Regions from separate parts of the Homo sapiens genome. Here region 1 is linked to region 2. Evidence: promoter capture Hi-C in human tissues and cell types (Jung and others, 2019). All regions are on one chromosome and are shown on one strand. The core of a region is centred on a gene start or on the middle of the fragment in contact, and the rest is flanking DNA. Distances in the headings are between cores, read along the strand shown.

Evidence for each region. Contacts are between HindIII fragments. The study calls those that stand out against the background at their distance.
Region 1: a contact is called between a fragment that was not itself captured here and the fragment with the promoter of USP16 in region 2, in 1 of the 25 tissues and cell types used here (aorta).

What each region holds. Positions count from the first base shown.
Region 1 is chr21:27,976,110-27,980,217 of GRCh38, reverse strand. No RefSeq gene overlaps it. Among named protein-coding and RNA genes, the nearest start is that of LINC00314, 35 kb to the left of the region's middle. The HindIII fragment of the contact is 4,119 bases long and covers 1-3,344 here.
Region 2 is chr21:29,022,958-29,027,756 of GRCh38, reverse strand. USP16 (ubiquitin specific peptidase 16) reads right to left here and starts at 3,089. Exons shown (of 18, transcript NM_006447.3): 1 at 2,980-3,089. RefSeq lists an enhancer at 2,824-3,213. The HindIII fragment of the contact is 4,673 bases long and covers 2,575-4,799 here.

The DNA.
Region 1 (4,108 bases), core at 36-2,535, 1.0 Mb after region 2:
CCCTTTGAATAAGGTGAAACCATGTAGTCAAAAGGACATATTTTATTTGAGAAAAGTTTATACTTTTTTCAGCTCAACATTTCTTCTGTTTTTTTTAATAGTATAAGTTCCTAAATCAGATGTAGCCTTATCAATAAATGACAATCCTCAGTAGCTAAAGTATTATTTCAAGATGTAGGCAATGTAAAATGTATTGAAATGTTAGAATTTATATGGAGTCCAGCTTTTTACTTTCCGAACACACACAAGTGCTTTGAAATTCATTGAGAAGTTATTTCTTTGGCAAAAAACTCTTGCTTACTCTTTCCCTTCAAGAGAACAGGATCTAACAAGGTCTATACTCTGAAATTGTTTAAGATCTTTAAAGTCTGCTCTTACTCTTGAAGTAAGACATTTCCTTTGGTGATGACCTCATTGGAAAGGTCAAGGAGTGAATAGGAAATTCTTAGAGATTGAGATGGCATTGCCAATAGAGGGGAGGAAATTACTTACTTCATTATTTTCAAAGGACTTTTTTGTTTGAAGGTCAGATTAGGGCTTTCCAGCCTCTGTTTTTTCCTCCCATTAAGTCTTTCACAAGAACAAAATGTGTTTCTTGCTTGCATCCCCTGTAATAGGGAGGAGAGATTCCTATGCTTCAAGTGCATTTTCTTCAGATAAATGAGATAAAGAGTAATGATAACTGGTATCATTTTCTTAAAGTTATCCTGGCTTAATATATGTATATGTGATATCAAATGTGCTATTTTTAAAAAATATAATTTTATTTGATAACATGCACATAAAATATCCATGTCATTGACTGTTTCTAATTCTCTTATGCAGCTGTGAGTCAGGACAGAAAAAAAATTCCAATGAATATTTCATTGTAGGATGATTTTACAAGCCATTCATTCATGATTTACAAGCAATTCAGTTCCATTAGCATAAATTTTGAAGGTAATATGCATATCACAATGATTATAAGAGGGCAGCCTTGGTGGTTCACACCTGTAATCCCAGCACTTTGGGAGGCTGAGGCAGGCGGATCACCTGAGGTCAGGAGTTCGAGACCAGCCTAGCCTAAATGGCAAAACCCCATCTCTCTGTCTCTACTAAAATATATATATCAGGCCAGGAATGGTGGCATGCTCCATAGTCCCCACTACTCGGGAGGCTGAGGGTAAGACAATCGCTTGAACCCAGGAGGTGGAGGTAGCAGTGAGCCGAGATCTTACCACTGCACTCCAGCCTGGGCGGCAGAGTTAGACCCTGTCTCGGAAAAAAAAAATAATTATATTGATGTCAATCAGAAATGTAAATATCTTCAATCCGAGGAAAGAAACACACAAAGACAGTTGATGGAAAAAGGGAGTAACTGATGGAATCAGGAAGATCTTGAAATTGGTGTGTCATTTGATCCAGAAGACAGTTTTCCTAGAGAATGCCGTCCCATCTTCTAATCTTGAGAGTCTCATATATTCAATGAGGTGGGCTTAAAAACTGATTAATAATAATAATGATCCAGTTAATCTATAGGCTATAGATATGTGGTAAAATTGAGGGTTTTTTCCCAGAGAGTGGTATGTCTTAAATGCCAACCTGCTGTGTGAGCTTAATTCAGAAAGTGGGAAAAGTGGGGATTTTTGGGAAAAGGGATTGCAGTTTCAAAGCCAAACCAAACCAAATGCCCATCAATGATAGACTGGATAAAGAAATGTGGCACATAAACACCATGGAATACTATGCAATCATAAAAAAGAATAAGTTCATGTCCTTTGCCAGGGCAGGAATGAAGCTGGAAACCGTCATTCTCAGCAAACTAACACAAGAACAGAAAACCAAACACCGCATGTTCTCATTCATTAGTGGGAGGTGAACAGTGAGAACACATGGACACAGGGAGGGGAACATCACACACTGAGGCCTGTCAGGGGTTGTGGGGCAAGAGGAGGGAGAGCATTAGGACAAATATCTAATACATGCAGGGCTTAAAACCTAGATGATGGGGAGATGGGTGCAGCAAACTACCATGGCACATTATACCTATGTAACAAACCTGCACATTCTGGACATGTATCCCAGAACTTAAAGTATATATAAAAAAAAAAATCACCTGAGATCAGGAGTTCAAAACCAGCCTGGCCAACACGGTGAAACCCCATCTCTACAAAATTACAAATATTAGCTGGGCACGATGGCGGGCCCCTGTAATCCCAGCTACTCGGGAGGCTGAGGCGGGAGAATTGCTTGAACCCGAGAGGTGGAGGTTGCAGTGAGCTGAGATTACACCACCGCACTCCAGCCTGGGTGACAGAGCCAGGCTCCATCTAAAAAAAAAAAAAAAAAAAAACAATGACAAAAGACAGTATAAATTTGTGCATCTATTTGTGCATAGTGATATATATTAAACACATTTCTGTGGAATCTTTTTAAAACAGGTATTTCCTATTTTCTACAAATATGATGGTAGTAGGAAACATCCAGAAAAGTTACGATTCTTAAATTACCATGAGTGATTATCTCAGTTTTCAGTGGAAACTCCTAGGTTCTAGTTGTAAACTGTAGCAATGAATCAGATACGTAATTCCAAATGTGTTCTTATTGTACGAAAGCTTTAACAGTGCATTTCTATTTGGAAGATACACCAAGAAGGAATTTTTCAAGACCTCAACTTTAGAGAGACCTTTAGGTGAGGATTAAATACTTAATCAGGGAGAAGTGCAGCTCAAAAAGAATTTTTGATTTGGGATATGACCACTCCTCTTATTTGACAATTTCAAATCATAATGGAGGAAAAATGTTTTTAATAAGGAATATGTAGTTTTCATTCCTTGAACAAATATTGTAAATGGGAGAAGCTATCAGGAGATGACTTTATTCTGAATTTGTGTGTGTGTGTGTGTGTGTGTAAATTTAAATACATTCTTTTTATTGCCAATAAACTTTCTTGCAAGTACCAGTTTTTTCCCAAATGAGATGCAGATATATAAGTTTCATATAGTAATTTGGTTATAAATGAAGATTAAATGCAAAGAAATGCTGTGTTCCTATCTGTGGAAATAATTTTATATGCATGAGGAAAATATAGAGCACAGAAAGCCTTGAGTCAATAGAAAGTTAGGGAAATAATCACTGCTAAGTAGACACAGCAGGTATAAGCTCTGCCGGGAGAATCTTTTTACTTCTACCACTCAGATAAATTGTTTTCAATTAAAATTAATTTTCCAAGTAATAATTCTATATAATGAAGCTATTACTATAGTAGGCAATTTGTCATTGCCAATCTTATTGCAGATAATCTTTATTAGTACCATACCTAAGTGTAAACCTCTGCTCAGAAAATCTATTTCTTGGGTGACTCCCAAGAAAATCCTATTTCATTGGAGCTTTCAATGTAATTTCTACTAGAATTGGTTCATATTGCTTTGACCAATGGATAATAATGTAATTAAAGGAAGAAGAGACAGAAAATGGATTTGTTTATATTTACTTCAGAAAAATCTGAGACGGTGAAAACCATTTTCTAAGGTCTGGGATATGTACTTCTGGCTACATTAGACTATCTCTAATTCTTTTCTTACTTTCTGAATGTTTATTTCTTTCACTACCTTCTCTTTCTTCTCCTCCCACTGGATTGGAGTAATTCCTCAAGCATTAGTTTTTAGTTTTGTTTTTCTCTACATTTATTCTGCACAAATTTAATCTGAATGAATGGTTTCAATGTCCCCTTTATTTGCTGGTATTTTCTCCTGACTGTCCTCAATTTTTTTTTTACAAGGAATTTCCAGACTTAATTCTTAAAAGTCCCTTTAAACAATTTCCTCAGATTTCTCACTATCATTAAGAATACATACTTGGCTCTAAACCCTTCTCCAACTCCATCAGTGACATAGCAGTTCTCACACCAAAGTGATCCAAAGAAAATTTTAGGGTCACAAACTGCATGTTTCTCACTGACTCCCACATAATCACCTCAAAACAAAGTCAATTTCCTCCTTTGTTTCAATCTTTATTAATTGTTTCTGTACAACTTTTGGTGTGTTAAAAATATCTCAGACATTGACAGTTTGTATTTCCTTTGTACTTGTACCAAAACTATTTCATACTCAAAGCTTTTGTATTTGCC
Region 2 (4,799 bases), core at 1,840-4,339:
ACAAAGACCAATCACATATAATCATCTAATTTTCAACAGGAACTCAAGTAGATAGAATAGTTATCTCCCGTTTTTCATAGCATAGGAAAGTGATTCTTAGCAAGCTTAAGAGGTTTTCAATATATGTAAAGGTCAGGAGAGAACCTTGGTCATCTTACACAGATCTTGAACAGTCTCAGAACTTGATACTCTTAGGAAGGTGACTCCTCACTACATACATGTGAAATAATGGCAGCACTTTAATCAGAAAACTGATTTGCTTCCCTTCTAAGCTACCTTTCTTAGCTCTGCAGTCTATGCAAATTAAACTGATAATTTCTCTAATAAAAATTAAAAATAATTCTAACAACCTCCTGAAGGGAGTTAGAAAATTTCCAAAATGGCTTCAAAGCCAAATACAAAAAGTGATACACTGTTGTACATTTTCCACACCAGGATTTCCTATGCGTATCAGCTAAATGAAAATTGATTACAACTGCATTCTCAACTATTTACATTATTATATTATTGCCAAAACCACTTTGGAAGGCTATTTGACAAATCTAGCTGCACATCAAATCTTCACTTTTTTAGTCAACAATTCAAACTTAGAAAACATGAAAAGTGCTAAAAGTACATACAGGTCTACCTAATTATATAGAATTATAGATTTTAGAAATAAATACATAAAATAGCACCCAAGTTCTTGCCTCCAATCCAACTCACTCTAATCGATGTGGGAGTTCAGTACTAGATTCATCTCCCAGTTATGCCATTTTTATCATATCACTCTCTTGATCGGAAGCATTTAACAGTTTCCTGGACCACACTCCCTAAACTTTGCACTCATAGGCCTTTATAAATTCGGCCCCATTGCTCGGCTAATCCTGACTTTCTATTACACCTCAACAACAACAAAAAAAACCACTAAAGTTATAACTATATAGTGCTTTTGATCTTCAAAGCCCTTTCACAAACATTATCACATCGGATTTTCATAACAACACTTTAAATAGAGGCATTTCACTCAAGGAGAAAAGTCAGGAAAAAAAAATGGTGAAAGATCACACAAACGATGAGCTAAAAGGCAGATGTTGTCTGGGTGCGGTGGCTCACGCCTGTAATCCCAACACTTTGGGAGATCGAGGTGGGAGGACGGCTTGAGGCCAGAAGTTCAAGACTAGCCTGGGCAACAAAGCGACACTCTATCTCTACCAAAAAAAAAAAAAAAAAAAAAAAAGGTAAAATGCAGATGTTTGGGTTTCAAGACCACCACTTTTTACCTGCCAATCAAGTCTGTCTCTTTTTTTTTTTTTTTTTTTGAGACGGAGTCTTGCTCTGTCGCCCAGGCCGGAGTGCAGTGGCCCGATCTCGGCTCACTGCAACCTCTGCCGCCCGGGTTCAAGTGCTTCTCCTGCCTCAGCCTCCCGAATAGCTGGGATTACAGACGCCCACCACCACACCCGGCTAATTTTTGTATTTTTAGTAGAGACGGGGTTTCACCATCTTGGCCATGCTGGTCTGAACTCCTGACCTCGTGATCCACCTGCCTCGGCCTCCCAAAGTGCTGGGATTACAGGCGTGAGCCACAGCACCTGGCCAAGTCCTTCTCTTGTACTCCACTCCAAAACACTTTGTACCCTCCCCGCCTTGATGTCTTTGATTTCTAGCTGTAATATTCTATCTAAATCTTACCAATCTTGGAAGCTCTCCATTTCAAGGAAGCCTTAGACAATCATTCTACTCTAAATAAACCTCTCCACTGAACTTCCCCAGTATTTATGGTATGCTCTAGTCATCTTGTCCCCTTATCCCATATTCTAGTGAATTTCTTAAATCTTTAATCTGGGTTTATGTTATTTCTGTAAGCAGAATCTAAAGTTCTTAGAAAAATAAATGGTTTCAAGCACAGTTTTGGAACTGCCTATAATATCTAGCATAATGTTAGTACATAGCAGGTCCTGAAGAAATACTTCTTGCATTGAAATAGAAAAATAGAATAGTACCTGAGGCATAAAGGATGATTACAAGGTGCAAAGGTAGGTACATAAGAATGAAGCAAACAAGTTCTGGTGAAAAAGAAAAGGGTGAAAAATGAGAAGTCAGAAGTCTGCAGTAGTGAAGACAGCACTAGTAAATCTGGTTTGAGGATTGCAGCAGCTTAGACTCCATAGGAAAACTTGAAAGACGAATTGTTAATTACTGCAGGCAGAGGACAGAGGGGTCACTCCAGTGCTGCGGAAAGAGCCTCAGTAAAGTTCTGACAACTATAAAGGCAACTAATGAGTCATGAGGAGAGCATATTGTGACTTCCATCAGCTATAAAACATCAATAAACTTAATACACTTTTCAAGTAGTGTCATCGGATGAGCATTAACGTCTTAGTGAAATGACTCTTCGCAGGACTCCATACAAAATCTAAATCAAAGATAGTCTTGCCGGTTCTCATATTATTCCAAGTCTCTTCACTCTCTGCCCTCCCAGTCTTCCCCTGCCTACTCGGTTCCATTAAAAATGTAAGCGTGTGGAAAACTTTGTCAGCAGGTGTTAACGTGGCTTTCAAGTTTTGCGTATATCAATCCCCTCCTAGATATAGTCAATTGGATAAGTGACAGATCCTGCTTTTCCTACCAGCCGTATGAACACGGCTGCAAATCCAGCTCCAACCCATAGGGAAGTCCCTGCCACGCGCCACCCACCCATTTGCTCGGCGCCTGCCACACCTTCCCTCTCCTCCCCTTCTAACTGCTCCGATCCCACGGGGGAACCTCTGGGTCCACGGGGTCGAGAAGGCCGCCAGCAGCGGCATCTCATTGGCCAGCTTCTGGAACTGACAGAACATGCAGCCAATGAGATCGCAGTACCGGAAAGTAGCCGGGTTACGTGCTTAAGGAGAGCGGCCTTCAAGAAGAGAACGAAGTTGGGGCGGAAAACAGGAGCTCTCCCAGCGCAGAAAGCCAGGCGAGCGACGACTGCCAGGCAGTGGGACCAGAACTCACCCACGGCGACAGAGCCCATAACTGCATCCCCTCATGGGCCTTTGGGCTGGGCAGCCAGCTCCGTCTTCCTCCTGGTGACGAATTGAGAGCGACGGAGTCGAAGCCAGAGTGACCCCTGGAAAGCAATAACTTCCGGAACGCGGCATTATGGGAAGTGGCTAGGCCACCACCACCCCACCCCCACCTCCCGGGACCATCGGCTCTGACGCTAGTAAATCTGCGCCTGCGTGCGGCTTGCGCCGGATGTTCGGGTTTAGGGGTTTGGTTGTCAATGGGTTTTCTCGTCTCTGACATAACCACGAAGTTATATAAATGCTCCTGAAGTGTGGGCATCCGGTGGTGGTCTGAGCCTTGGAGTTTCCTAGATGGTTACCTTTCTGGAACACATTATATTTGGAGCTAAAAGGGGGAACGCTTAAATTTGTTTCCGTAATTCTGTCCTGTCGACTTCTAAAACTGAGTACCTAAGTTGTCTTGAATTTACCTTCCTGCACCATGTCAGAATAAAAAACGCAGCGAGTGATTTTTTGTTTGTTTGAGACGGAATATCCCTCTGTCGCCCAGGCTGGAGTGCATTCTTCTGCCTCAGCCTCCCGAGTAGCTGGGACTACAGGCGCACGGCACCACGCCCAGCTAAAATTTTTGTATTTTTAGTAGAGACGGGGTTTCACCAATTGGCCAGGCTGGTCTCCAACTCCTGACCTTGTGATGCGCCCGCCTCGGCCTCCCAACGTGCTGGGATTACAGGCGTGAGCCACCGCGCCCGGCCGCGAGAGTGAATTTTTAAAGCAAAACCGAAAGACGGTGTCAGATAAATTGCGGGGGAGGAGGGGATTTTCAAATATTTACTGTCCATTCTTTGAAAATTTGTAAGTGCGAGCCCTGGCGCGGTGGCTCACCCCTGTAATCCCAACACTGGGAGGCCGAGGCGGGTGGATCACGTGAGGTCAGGAGTTCGAGACCAGCCTGGCCAACGTGGTGAAATCCCGTCTCTACTAAAAATACAAAAAATTAGTCGGTCGTGGTGGCGGGCGCCTGTAATCCCAGCTATTCGGGAGGCTAAGGGGGAGAATCGCTTGAAGTCTGGAGGCAGAGGTTGCAATGAGCCAAGATCACTCCATTGCACTCCAGCCTGGGCAACAAGAGCAAAACTCCCTCTCAAAAAGAAAAAAAGAAAATATGTAAGTGCACACTTTGTGCCAAGCCTTTCCTCAAATGAATTAAACATAGGCCTCTCTGCCCTGGAGTCTTAGTTTAGTAGAGAAGATAGTAATCGCTACCGTGGGGGTCGGGGGAGTTGCAGATAGCTATAGAAAAATAGATATGTAAACAGGTAATTCACCATAAAAGAACAATTGGTCATAAAATAAATGTCCATCCTTACTAATCAGATAAAAGGAGTTTAAGATGGTGGCATACTAACCACCAGAGTAACATTTGGTTAAATTTGGGGGAAAACTAGCTCTCTTGCTTTTTACTGCTGAGATAATTTTTGTTTTATTTACTTATTTATTTATTTATTGAGACCGGGTTGCACTCTGTTACCCAGGCTGGAGTGCAGTGGCACGACCTCAGCTCACTGCAACCTCCACCTCCCGATTCTCCCACCTCACCCTCCCCAGTGGCTGGGATTATAGGCACGTGCCACCCCACCACACAGCTAACTTTTGTATTTTTTTGGTAGAGGCAGGGTTTCAGCATATTGGCCAGGCTGGTCTTGAACTCCTGGCCTCAAGTGATCCACCTGCCTCGGCCTCCCAAAATGCTGGATTACAGGCATAAGCCACCGGACCCGGCTTAGTTTCATCTTTCTCTGTATT